Regions from separate parts of the Homo sapiens genome. Here regions 2, 3 and 4 are each linked to region 1. Evidence: promoter capture Hi-C in human tissues and cell types (Jung and others, 2019). All regions are on one chromosome and are shown on one strand. Each heading gives the region's core, a stretch centred on a gene start or on the middle of the fragment in contact. The rest is flanking DNA. Distances are from core to core; before and after follow the strand shown.

The links. The method cuts DNA at HindIII sites, captures the fragments that hold promoters and counts their contacts. A contact is called where the count stands out against the background at its distance.
Region 2: a contact is called between a fragment that was not itself captured here and the fragment with the promoter of L3MBTL4 in region 1, in 2 of the 25 tissues and cell types used here (lymphoblastoid cells and small bowel).
Region 3: a fragment that was not itself captured here is called in contact with the fragment with the promoter of L3MBTL4 in region 1 in 2 of the 25 tissues and cell types used here (heart left ventricle and lymphoblastoid cells).
Region 4: a fragment that was not itself captured here is called in contact with the fragment with the promoter of L3MBTL4 in region 1 in 1 of the 25 tissues and cell types used here (lymphoblastoid cells).

What each region holds. Positions count from the first base shown.
Region 1 is chr18:6,413,526-6,416,225 of GRCh38, reverse strand. L3MBTL4 (L3MBTL histone methyl-lysine binding protein 4) reads left to right here and starts at 1,315. Exons shown (of 19, transcript NM_001330559.2): 1 at 1,315-1,425. RefSeq lists a silencer at 1,273-1,812. The HindIII fragment of the contact is 7,728 bases long and covers 1-2,700 here.
Region 2 is chr18:6,282,608-6,285,307 of GRCh38, reverse strand. All of the region lies in intron 4 of L3MBTL4 (L3MBTL histone methyl-lysine binding protein 4), which reads left to right. Among named protein-coding and RNA genes, the nearest start is that of L3MBTL4-AS1, 27 kb to the right of the region's middle. The HindIII fragment of the contact is 4,673 bases long and covers 1-2,700 here.
Region 3 is chr18:6,240,270-6,243,032 of GRCh38, reverse strand. L3MBTL4 (L3MBTL histone methyl-lysine binding protein 4) reads left to right here. Exons shown (of 19, transcript NM_001330559.2): 8 at 1,584-1,675. Among named protein-coding and RNA genes, the nearest start is that of L3MBTL4-AS1, 15 kb to the left of the region's middle. The HindIII fragment of the contact is 6,749 bases long and covers 1-2,763 here.
Region 4 is chr18:6,258,721-6,261,422 of GRCh38, reverse strand. The region is part of intron 5 of L3MBTL4 (L3MBTL histone methyl-lysine binding protein 4); the gene reads left to right. It overlaps L3MBTL4-AS1 (L3MBTL4 antisense RNA 1), which reads right to left. Exons shown (of 3, transcript NR_110765.1): 2 at 2,627-2,702; 3 at 489-2,263. Among named protein-coding and RNA genes, the nearest start is that of L3MBTL4-AS1, 3.3 kb to the right of the region's middle. The HindIII fragment of the contact is 5,812 bases long and covers 1-2,702 here.

The sequences.
Region 1 (2,700 bases), core at 66-2,565:
TGCCCAGGCTGGAGTGCAGTGGTACTATCTCAGCTCACTGGAGCCTCTGCCTCCCAGGTTCAAGCGATTCTAGTGTCTCAGCCTCCCGAGTAGTTGAGATTACAGGCGCCCGCCACCACACCCAGCTAATTTCGTATTTTTAGTAGAGACAGGGTTTCACCATGTTGGCCAGGCTGGTCTCGAACTCCTGACCTCAAGTGATCCGCCCTCTTCGGCCTCCCAAAGTGCTGGGATTACAGATGTGAGCCGCCATACCTGGCTAATATATTTTTCTTAACTGACTAGAGCACAGAACACAAATCGTGTGTTTGCACTTACAAATTTCTATGATCATTGTTCCTAGTTTAAAAACTTCATTAGCAAAGGGGTTTATATTTCTCTTTTCAGTAAGGACACGAAATTATGTTTCAACAATGCCCAGTCTCACCTAAAAAGCAAGTTTTCATTCTCTGTTTATGGTAGCCCACGACAAACCAAAAAGATCATTTTGGATGGTATCATTGTTAATCCTGCTAAATGATTCAATTTCCTGCTGAAAGCAACAAACTAATACTTATTTAGTACCTACTATTTATTATTTGCATACTAGGGTTTATACACAAGGCGTCCTATGAAAGAACATTTCATTCAAAAGTCACAACATATAGTCTTCAATTATCAGCTACCTTTATTTGTAAGCCAAAATAAATGATTTAATACAGTCCTCCCAAACTGGGAGACAATGCTTTGAGAAAGGCCAAAGCTAGCCAGTAAGGCCATAAGTTCCATGAGGGCAGGATCTACCCAGCTCCTGTTTCCTGCTCAATTCCAAGCAGTTAGAACAGGGTCAGTAAACACTGCTTGCCACTTGGAAAGAGTATTCTTTTATTTGGAAATGGTATCCAGGTACTCGTGAGTAGCAAAGTCAAGAGCAGGAAAGGGGAGTGGGGGAGGTTGCAAAATCGGAGCGAGCAGCAGGACCGAGAGGGATCCGGAGGAGAGAGCCTTCAGACGGTGAACCCCAAGAGCTGGGATGAAGCATGGGTGAGCTACTGGGACTTCGCTGCCAGGGAGCAAGCTGGCAGGCAGGAAGTAGCCAAGATTTGGGGGAATCCTTCCCAGGGAACGAATACAGAGAAGGACGCATCTGAAAATTCCGCCGCAGCCACCTCCCTCCCATGGGAAAGCCCCGACCTCGGCGGGCCCAGCGCCACCCGGCTCCCCGGGGTGTGGAACACTGAGCGAGGCAGGTGCGGCGGGAGCATGCGCGCGGGGCGGGCAGGGGGCGGCTCCCGCGCCCCCACCCCGCGCGTGCACCCTCGCGCCCCTCCCGCCGGGCACCGCGGGGCAGCGGCGCCGCAGCCTGGGCTGGCGGAACCTCGCGCTCCGACTCGCCCCCCGCCTGTAGCTCGGTCGGCGTTGCGGGCAGGCGCCGCTCCGCTGGGGGTAAGAAGGACGCCGCCGCCCGCGTGGGATGGTCGCGAGCCCGCGTGGGTGCCCACGGCCGCCGCCGCGCGGGGTGGCCCCATCCCCGGGCAGGTAGAGGGGCCTGCACGACTCCCGCGGCGAGGGCCGGGCCGGTGGGGGCGGTGGCGGTTGGGGATAGCCCCGGTCCCGGCCCAGGCTCTTTCTCTTTCTCTTTCGCCGCCGGGGCGCGCGCCGGGCTCCCCGCGAGAGGCGCTGCCTCACTTGTCGCCTACTTTGGACGGGCGCGGCCGCCGCAGAGCCCGGCGCCTCGGTCAGCCGCGAGGGCAGGGTCGGGGTGCCAGGCGCGGCTACCTGGGCGCCCTGGAGCCAGCGCAGCCTGGGACCGGGGGAGCGGGACGGGACGGGACTCCTGAGGGCCCCCAGGCAGTCCTCCGGCCATCGAGCGCCCGGCGGTGGGCATTTGGCTTTTGTTTCCTCTGGGGCTAACGCCCCCGTCTGCCCGCGTGTCCCCCTCAGCCGACAAGTGTCGTGTGCCCGGACGGGCGAGCGCTGCCTCCCTCCACCCGCTTTCTGCCCTTGTCTTCCTCTGCGAGTTCTGCCCAGCCTCGGGAGCGGGAGCCCAGGGAGTGCGCGCAGGGCGGGCGGGCGCCTGGCCAGCCTGGGACGGCGGCTCTCAGGCTCCTGCCACCGCCTGGAACTGCGGGGGGCGCGCCGGCCACAGTCGCCCTCGCCTGCTCTCCGGGCCTTCTTGGGCCCGCTTGGTCCCAGGTGGACGCGAGTCGAGCTGGGCACACCTGGGCCAGCGCCGCACTTACCTGCGGGATTGGTGAGAGCGTTTTCGCGAGGTCGCAAATTCCGGGTGGGTATTGTCCCCTGCTTTTGATCTCCCTTAGTCACTGGTTAAAGTGCGAAGTGTGCTTTATCTTACATATGCCTTTAGAGGGACATTCTTAATGCGCCAATGCCCCGAGGTGGAACTAAATAAAGGGAAGGCCTGGTCATTGTTACTGTTGAGACTGCTGTACTTAACAGTCAGAGGAAGGCAGCTGGTCACCACGACCCACTCGGCCATTCCCATGCTGAAGACTCGCTCTCACTTCACACTTGTTTGGACTCCACTATGACTTGCTGGTGGCCCATCTCCTGGATCCTTCTGTTGGAGCTGTTCTAGAAGATGCTTGTGGCAGGCTCCAGTTTCAGTCCTTGGCTGAAATAAGTGTAGTGTGGCTCTTCGGTTTTCTAATCTATTCCACCTAAAAAGGTTAAGGTGACAAACAGGTGGTGGGTACAGTA
Region 2 (2,700 bases), core at 8-2,507, 130 kb after region 1:
TCCCCTTAGTTGTATAGTTGCTTATTTGTTCAGTGCCCCCACCATCCTTCAGTGCTGCCACCAACCCCTCCCTGGCATCCATGGCCACCTCATCCCACGTGGGCTCCACCATCCGGCTGCCTCCCTGTGGATGTCATCTTCAAGCTCCTTTGCTCCAAGAGCTGGCAGAGGCCACCCCTCTGCGGACGCCTCCTCGCCCTGAGTGGGCGTTAATACCGCACCAGGCTGCCCCGCAGAAGCCGTCCTCTCGACGCCCTCCGGAAACTGGACTCCCCTCGCTGGGTCAGCCTCCAGGTGGGTGCCCTCAACGCCTTGTTTAGGGTTCATTCCCGCCCCCGCCCATGCCAGGCTGCCCTGCCAGGCTCTGAGGCCTGTGCCTACTCCCCAACTTGTGGATGTTTTCCCTCCCCGTTCCGGGCTCCGACTGCCCACGCTGGGCGGCCCCTGTGCAGATGCCCTCCTACCAGTTTGGGCTCCTCCAGCGGGCTCGAGGCCAAGGTCGCTCTAGCTGCCTCCACCCATGTCCTCCCACCTTGCTCTGTTGCACAGAGTGGCTTCAGCATGGGATCATAGAATTGCTCAGGAGGGAAAGAGAAGGGAAAGGAGAAGGCCGAGAGGATGAGGCAGAATAGGATACTGCCCTGAAGAAGGGCACAGATGACATGGAGGAGAGCCTGATGTGGAAGAAAAGCGACCGGGGGCTTGGGAACAGCCTGCGTGCGCAGCCGGCCAGTGCGTCCCCTCCAAGGTGGCGGCGCTGCGGCGGTGTGGGAGCCAGCGAGGGAGCTGAGTGCCTGCCTCCCGCCTCGCCCGGCTGAGCTGAGCTGCGGGCCCTTTCCTCCTCCCGGCCCTTTTGCTTGGCCTCGTCTTTGGCTTCGACTTTCCCAGGAGGGACAGCCATGTGATGGTCGTGTTTTGAGTCTCGACGCCCGGGTGGGTCTGACATGTGGGCTCCGTGAGAGCCCCTGTGGATTTCCCTCTGCAGCAGGAAGGAGATAGGAATTGGTGATGTGGCTTTGCTGTTTTGCTAAATTGCTGTTATTTCAGCGTGTAAGCACGGAGCTGTATTTGTATGGTAGCTCACTTTGTAGAATAGACTAATTCCTTAAAAATTCACTTGGAAATGAATGTTCACTCCTGGAATCTTATTTTTCTCCTGACTTCGTATGCATAATTGAATGATACCAAACAACAACAACAAAGATTTTCCCCTAAGACAGCATCTAACTCACAATTAAAGCATTATAGTGCAATACACAGAAATTTCCCTAATGTTTAGGCCAGTGCGTGGCTGCCGGCCACATACGTAGAGAATGATCGCCCAGACTTTGGTTATTTAGCTGTGGTTTTGTCTTTTAGAAATCTTACCTTTTAGAAATCTGAACTTTTAGTTATTCCTTCTGAAGAGTGACTTCTTTTTATATTTGAAAGGAAGTGTAGAGTGTGTGTGCTTAGAATCAAACAGACCTTGTCTGAATTTTGGTTTTGCCACTTAATTGGCATGTTGTGGCTTTCAACAAGTGATTATACTTAGCTTTTCCAAGCCTCAATTCTCTTGCTTGTGAAATGGGAGTAATAGATAATATATCTTACCCCATAAAATTGTCAAGATTAAATGAGAAAATGTTTGTAATGTGTTTGACTCTAGGGAGATACTAATAAATGGTATTTTTTGGAACAGCTTAAATAGGGAATTTATTCATTTTTAAAATAACTTTGAGGCTCTTTTTGGTGTAGATGCTCATATTTTGCTTAGGAGGTTCCTATAGGACTGTTTTTAAAACTATTTAGAGAATTAAATAGTTTTAATTAAATTAAATAATATTTCCTTTAGTATTTTTATCCTGCTTAGGAAAGAACTTATTTTTCTTTGAGGAGTAGTCAGAGTTGAAGTCTAAACCTTTAAAAACTCATTTGGTTTTTCTTTTCTTACATAACCAGAAATAGTACAATATGTTTCTCACAAGCCTTTCCTGAAGCCTCTTTGGGATGTAGCTATGTGTAGAAAATAACTTTTTCAAAAAGCACTTTAAGTGAAAATAGATTTTTGCCAATAGTTTGTGACTGTCCTGATGAAAGTGAAGAGCATGGGAAAATGACAGAGGCATGTGCTTGGCCTTTAGTAAGTTGAACAGATTTAACAGATATATAGGATTATAAAAATATACAAACTTTCAGAAAGCATGAGAAATGTGTTAATTATTTTGGGATGAAAGGGCTCTTACATGCTGGATTTAACGTCACTCTCATCTTAGGAAAGCCTGTACCTGTGGGTCTTGGAGAGGAGGCGTTGCTCCCAAGATCAGTGAATGCACTGCCCATCAGCAGCACAAGCCAGGACCTCAGGGGCTGCCTGGAGGTTCAAGGGACCTTTTTCTTTTTTTACTTCCCTTGGGCAATCTGACAAGGGAGGCTGTTGCTTCTGTTTCTGGAACATTTCTCATCTGTCCACTTATTTTCGTCTTCCCTGTGCCACTTGAGTCCAAGCTGTCACCCCGTGCTTGGACTTCGCAGTTGATCTCCCCAGGCCTGCTCTTGGTACTCCCTAATCCAGGTGCACAATGCCAGCTGCATTGTTCTTTTCAGTACATGAGCCTGATCCTGTCCACCTGCCTACCTTTCCTTTGCTTAAAACCTTTCCAGTGCTTCCCATTGCCTGTAGGATAGGATGTGGGCGAAATTCTTACTAAGGCCTCCAAG
Region 3 (2,763 bases), core at 194-2,693, 170 kb after region 1:
TATTTTATTTTATATAAAGTTTATTAAACCTTATAAGCAGTGCAGACTAATATTTAAATCATGGTTGAAACAAAATATCTAATCAATGATACAGCAAGGTGAGGAAACTTGATTCACTGTAAGTAATTTGTTTCAGACTTAGGAATCACGGAAAACAAAGAACTATGAAAAAAATCACTATTTTCTTTCGATGGGAATGAAAAATATCATGGTTTTGTTATGTGCTAGAGGAGTCTGGGCCAGGCAGATGTGACCAAAACCTTTTCGATTTGCTGTGTGCAAGTGAGGTGGGGATGTGGTCAAGGATGATGCTGACGGGCTCATATCTTTGCACAGCAAACTTCTGTACATTGTCTCTGGCTTGGATGTCAGACTGTTCGATGTCTGTGGCAACTTCTGGAGTCAGTATACAGTCCTTTATTCCTAGTTATCCACTCAGGGTGTCCCTTGGGATCCTCCCCTGAGGCTGATGGCAGAGTCCTTGAGGTTGCTGGTTTGGAGGAAGCTGGTGACAGGCTACAGGCTCATTCATTCAGTAGGTATTTATGGAGCCCTTACCACGTGAGGCACTGAGGGCCAGTAGCAAGTAAAGCAATGTCTCTATCTCCACGGGGCTTCATTTCAGAGGAGAAGGATAATGGCGGTGGCTGCAGGGACACTCTTTCAGAAAGCATGGGGGAGAAAGGCCTCTCTGTGGACATAATGTTCCAAAGAGACGTGGGTGAAATGACAGAGGAAGCAGTGTGGTGTCTGGGTAAGCCCTCCAAGGGAAGAACAGGAGCAGGCGCCGGGGCAGGAGTGCGCTTTGCGAGGATGAGTCATCTCAGGGAGACAGCAGAGAAGCGCCCAGGTGGGAAGGTCGGGGACGAAGAGGGTGGTGTTCCCAGGCCTGGAAGGCTGTGCAGGGAGTTTGACTTCTGTTCCAAGGCTGGTGCTCAGAACCATATTTTGAGCCTGTACTGTTTGGCCAGCACTGTGTGAGAGCCACGCCAGGGCATGCGAATGGGAGGATGCAGCAGTTTTTAATGGGAGACTAGTAAAGATGCGGCGCAGAAAGCTGGAGCTGTGGAGTGGGCATTGGATTGAGAAGGCGTTTCTGTGCCTGGCATCCTGGATGGCTGCACCCTCAGGACCTCTGATGGTCTCTGTAAAGTCTCTTCCTCAGGAGTGGGGACAGGTACGGGAACTCTGGTCTCATCCCTTTGCCCATTCAGGAAAGCCTTAATGGGCGATGAGACTCCCATCAGGCCACCAGAGTACTGACTCCGTATCAGAGCATGTGAAATTGTATCGGGAATGATGCGCGTGATGGGGAAGCACTATCAACAGTTTTGCACATAATACATTTTAAAAAGGTGAAACAATTTGGAGATTTTAATTTAAATCTTTTGTGGGTGCTAAGGACGTTGAATTTATGGCAGGACACTAATAATAACCATATGAGGTTGGTGCAAAAGTAATTGCGTTTTTTTTCCATTAAAAGTAATGGCCAAAACCGCACTTACTTTTGCACCAACCTAATATATTTAATATGCATGTGATTACATCTTTTGGGTATTTTGAGTAATCTGTGCTTTTTTTAGGTTATAGAAAAGATAAATTTGTTTGGATGGATTACTTGAAGGCCTGCAAATTGCAAAATGCTCCAAAGAAATTATTCAGAAACAGAAGTCCTGTAAGTATTTTCTTTCCCAGCATAAATCAAATTTCCCCCAAGCTTAAATTTCTTAAAATTCACTATATATTCTGTTTTATTTTAATCCTTTAAGAAGTTATGGAAACTGTTAACTTCCTGTCACTTTTCTCACCTAATTCGTCAGTTTCTTGTGGGCATATCTTGGTTTTCTTCCTTTAAAAGTATAATTAAATACTTCAATTAGATGAGAAAAAGTTGGGAAAACTTAAAAACTTTATGTTTAAAGCCTACTAAAATTGAAAGTGTCTTTTAAAAATGTTTTCCCTTACAGGGAGTTAATCCTTTAATCTTGCTTTTGGTGTTTTGAAACCAGCAGATACTCTAAGTAGGCTTTGAATGTACCCAGCCTAGATATATTTAAGTGTAATGAAAATGAGAGTAACATTTTGTACTAATTGAAGGGGTGTTCTGCGGATCTGGGTAGATCACACTTCTTATGCCATCCGTGTCCCCAGAAATCTAGTGAACCTTCAGTGGAGGAGAATAAATTGCAACTCCAGAAGTCGGCTCTGCCACTGGCAGGCGGTGTCACTGTGCAGGCCACTCACTGAATTTCTCCAGACATCACTTCTGTGATCTTGAAAGCAGTGTTATACAATCGTTAAATATGTTTCCTAGATTTGTATCAAGAAAAGGAGCTATTAAAACGTGAAGTTGCTGTAAAAATAGAATGTGCTGAAGGAGAATAAAAATCAGGGTTTGATGAAAGAGAAGTAGAGAAAAACACCCTCTTTCAGTTCCCGGATACTGTATGTACTCCCTAAATCCCAGGATTGGCTAATTATAGATATATGAAGGGTGGGTTTGTAATTGTTATGTTATTGTAAATCATAGTTCATAGTATTTTTATACTAAGAAAAGCACAGATAGTAAAAAAGCACTCACATTTTAAAATTATAAATTTAAATTATATGTTAAATATATATAAATTATATATAAATACACATTTTAAATTATAATTTTATTTAAGCATGTATTTCTTAAATATTGAAAAAGCCACTTATTTTCAGATTGAGTAATCAAATTAACAGGATACTTTGGTGCTAATTAGAGCATATCTTCACCAC
Region 4 (2,702 bases), core at 136-2,635, 150 kb after region 1:
TTGGCTAAGGACTTTCTCAAGCTTTTGAACTCTAATATTTGTCATCTCTGAAAGTAACAGCAAAGTGTTAGTGTGTGAGAAAACAGACATGTTTGACATGTTGGACTGCCTTTCTCTCCAGTCATAATCTAACACTCAAGCTGCCCACGTGTTTAAGACTCTGTGTGTGCAAAGTGCCATGTAAGACTGGCCAAAACACTAAAGAACGTATGACATGGTGTCTTAGGATCTTGTGGGCTAGTTGGGATATGATATGCCCATAATAACACAGCAACAATCTGAGGTAGAATGTTAATTGCCCACAAGTAATGAATTTATGAGGAATTCCATGTGTGAGATGAGACCTCATTCGACCCTGAATGCAGAGAGAATTAAGCTCACCAATTATTCCGTCTGATTTGCCCTAATAACTAAAGAAGATGCTTGTGTTCAAGATCACAGTGTTACTCTAACTTGAATTTGTATTTTCAGATGAAATAAGCATTGTCTATAGTTAAAAATAGGTTTTAATATAATCAAAAAGGCAGATGGTTCATGTCAGCTTTCCAAGAAGGAGCATCAGACTAAACTCAATTTTATATTGACATTGTGTTTTTGACTATTAATGTTCATTTTCATTGTGTAAATATTAGTATAATGTTGTTCAGGTCAGCCAGCTGAGATGGAACGCTTCAGCTTTTGACACCGAAATGTTGAAAATAAAACTTAATTCTATGCTTAGAAAACCCTAAAGATTCTGCCAAAAGGCTCCTGGGACTGATAAATGAATTCAGTAAAGTTTCAGGATACAAAATCAGTGTACAAAAGTCAGTAGCATTTCTATACACCAATAATGTTCAAGCTGAGAGAAAATCAAGAACACAATCCCAATTACAATAGGCACACACAGAGAAAAATATCTAGGAATACATTTAACCAAGAAGGTGAAAGATCTTTTCAAGGAGAACTACAAAACACGGCTAAAAGAAATCAAAGATGACATATAAACAACTGGAAAAACATTCCATGCTCATGGGTGGGAAGAATCAATATCATTAAGGTGGCCATACTCCCCAAAGCAATCTATAGATTAAACATTATTCCTATCAAACTACCAATGTCATTTTTCACAGAACCAAAAAAACTTACTCTAAAATTCACAAGGAACTAAAAAAGAGCCCAAATAGTGAAAGCAATCCTAAGCAAAAATAACAAAGCATCGTATTACCTGACTTCAGACTATACTGCAAGGCTACAGAAACCAAACAGCATGGTACTGGTACAAAAACACATACATAGAACAATGGAACAGAATAAAGAGCCCAGAAATAAAGCTGCACATGTACAGCCATCTTATCTTTGACAAAGCTGACAGAAAAAAAGCAATGGGGAAAGGACTCCCTATTCAATAAATGGTGCTGGGATAGCTGGCTAGCCATATACAGAAGATTAAAACTAGACCCCCTACCTTTCACCATATACAAAAACTAAATCAAGATGAATTAATAATTTAAATGTAAGACCTCAAACTATAAGAGTTCTAAAAGAAAACCTAGGAGACACCATTCTCAGCATTGGTCTTGAGAAAGAATTTATGACTAAATCCTCAAAAGCAATTACAGCAAAAACAAAATTTGACAACTGAGACCTAATTAAACTAAAGGGCTTCTGCACAGCAAAAGAAACCATCAACAGAGTAAAGAGACAACCTACAGAATGGGAGAAAATATTCACAAACTATGCAGATGACAAAGATCTAATATATCCAGAATCTATAAGGAACTAGATTCAATAAGCAAAAACCAATTAACCCATTAAAAATGGGCAAAAGAAGAATGAAGGAGATGGAGAAGGAGAAAGGAGAAGAAAAAAGAAGAAAAAGTAAAAAATAAAAAATGGGCAAAAGACATGAACAGACACTTCTCAAAAGAAGACATACAAGTGGCCAACAAACATAAAAAAATGCTCAACATCACTAATCATCAGAGAAATGCAAATTAAAACCACAACGAGATACCATCTCACACAAGCCAGAATGCTTATTATTATAAAGTCAAAAAACAACAGATACTTGCAAGGCTGCAGAGAAAGAAAGGCACATGGAGTTGCATGTTCATTGCAGCACTATTCACTATAGCAAAGACATTGAATTGACCTAGGTGCCCATCAATGGTGTCATCCTCTTTCCATTGTTGTTCCTGTTCTGTTTCTGACCCTGGTCTGAGTGACTTCTCATGGGTTGTCTCTCTCCCAAATTATTCTTCTGTGGCCTTTGCAGTCCTGCCTGTGGTAAAACAAATTATGCAATTTTCCCAAGAGCTCAACACGTCATTCCCTCCTCCCTGTGGCCAGGTGCACACCTGCTTCCCCCCGGGCACTCTGCCTCCTGGGTGCCCCTGTGCCACGTCCACTTCTCCCTCTGGGTGCAGGCAGGCCTAGCCTACTCCAGCTCCCAACCACTCCTTTCTTACCCTATTTCTACTTGCATGCCCAACCCTCCCTTCTTGGTGATTTATGCAGTCGTAACACTGCTATTTCCACTCTTGCTGCCTCAATAGGGTGTGTGTGCATGTGTGTCTGCTCACACTGTTCACCTCCCTCTGCTCTCTCCCCTCCTCCACCCTCTCCCACCCAGTCCCGTTCTCACCCTGGGACATTTCTTTGCCCATGTGACAGTCCATCCACCTCCTAAGACCTTGGGTGCCTCCATGCCAGGAACCGGT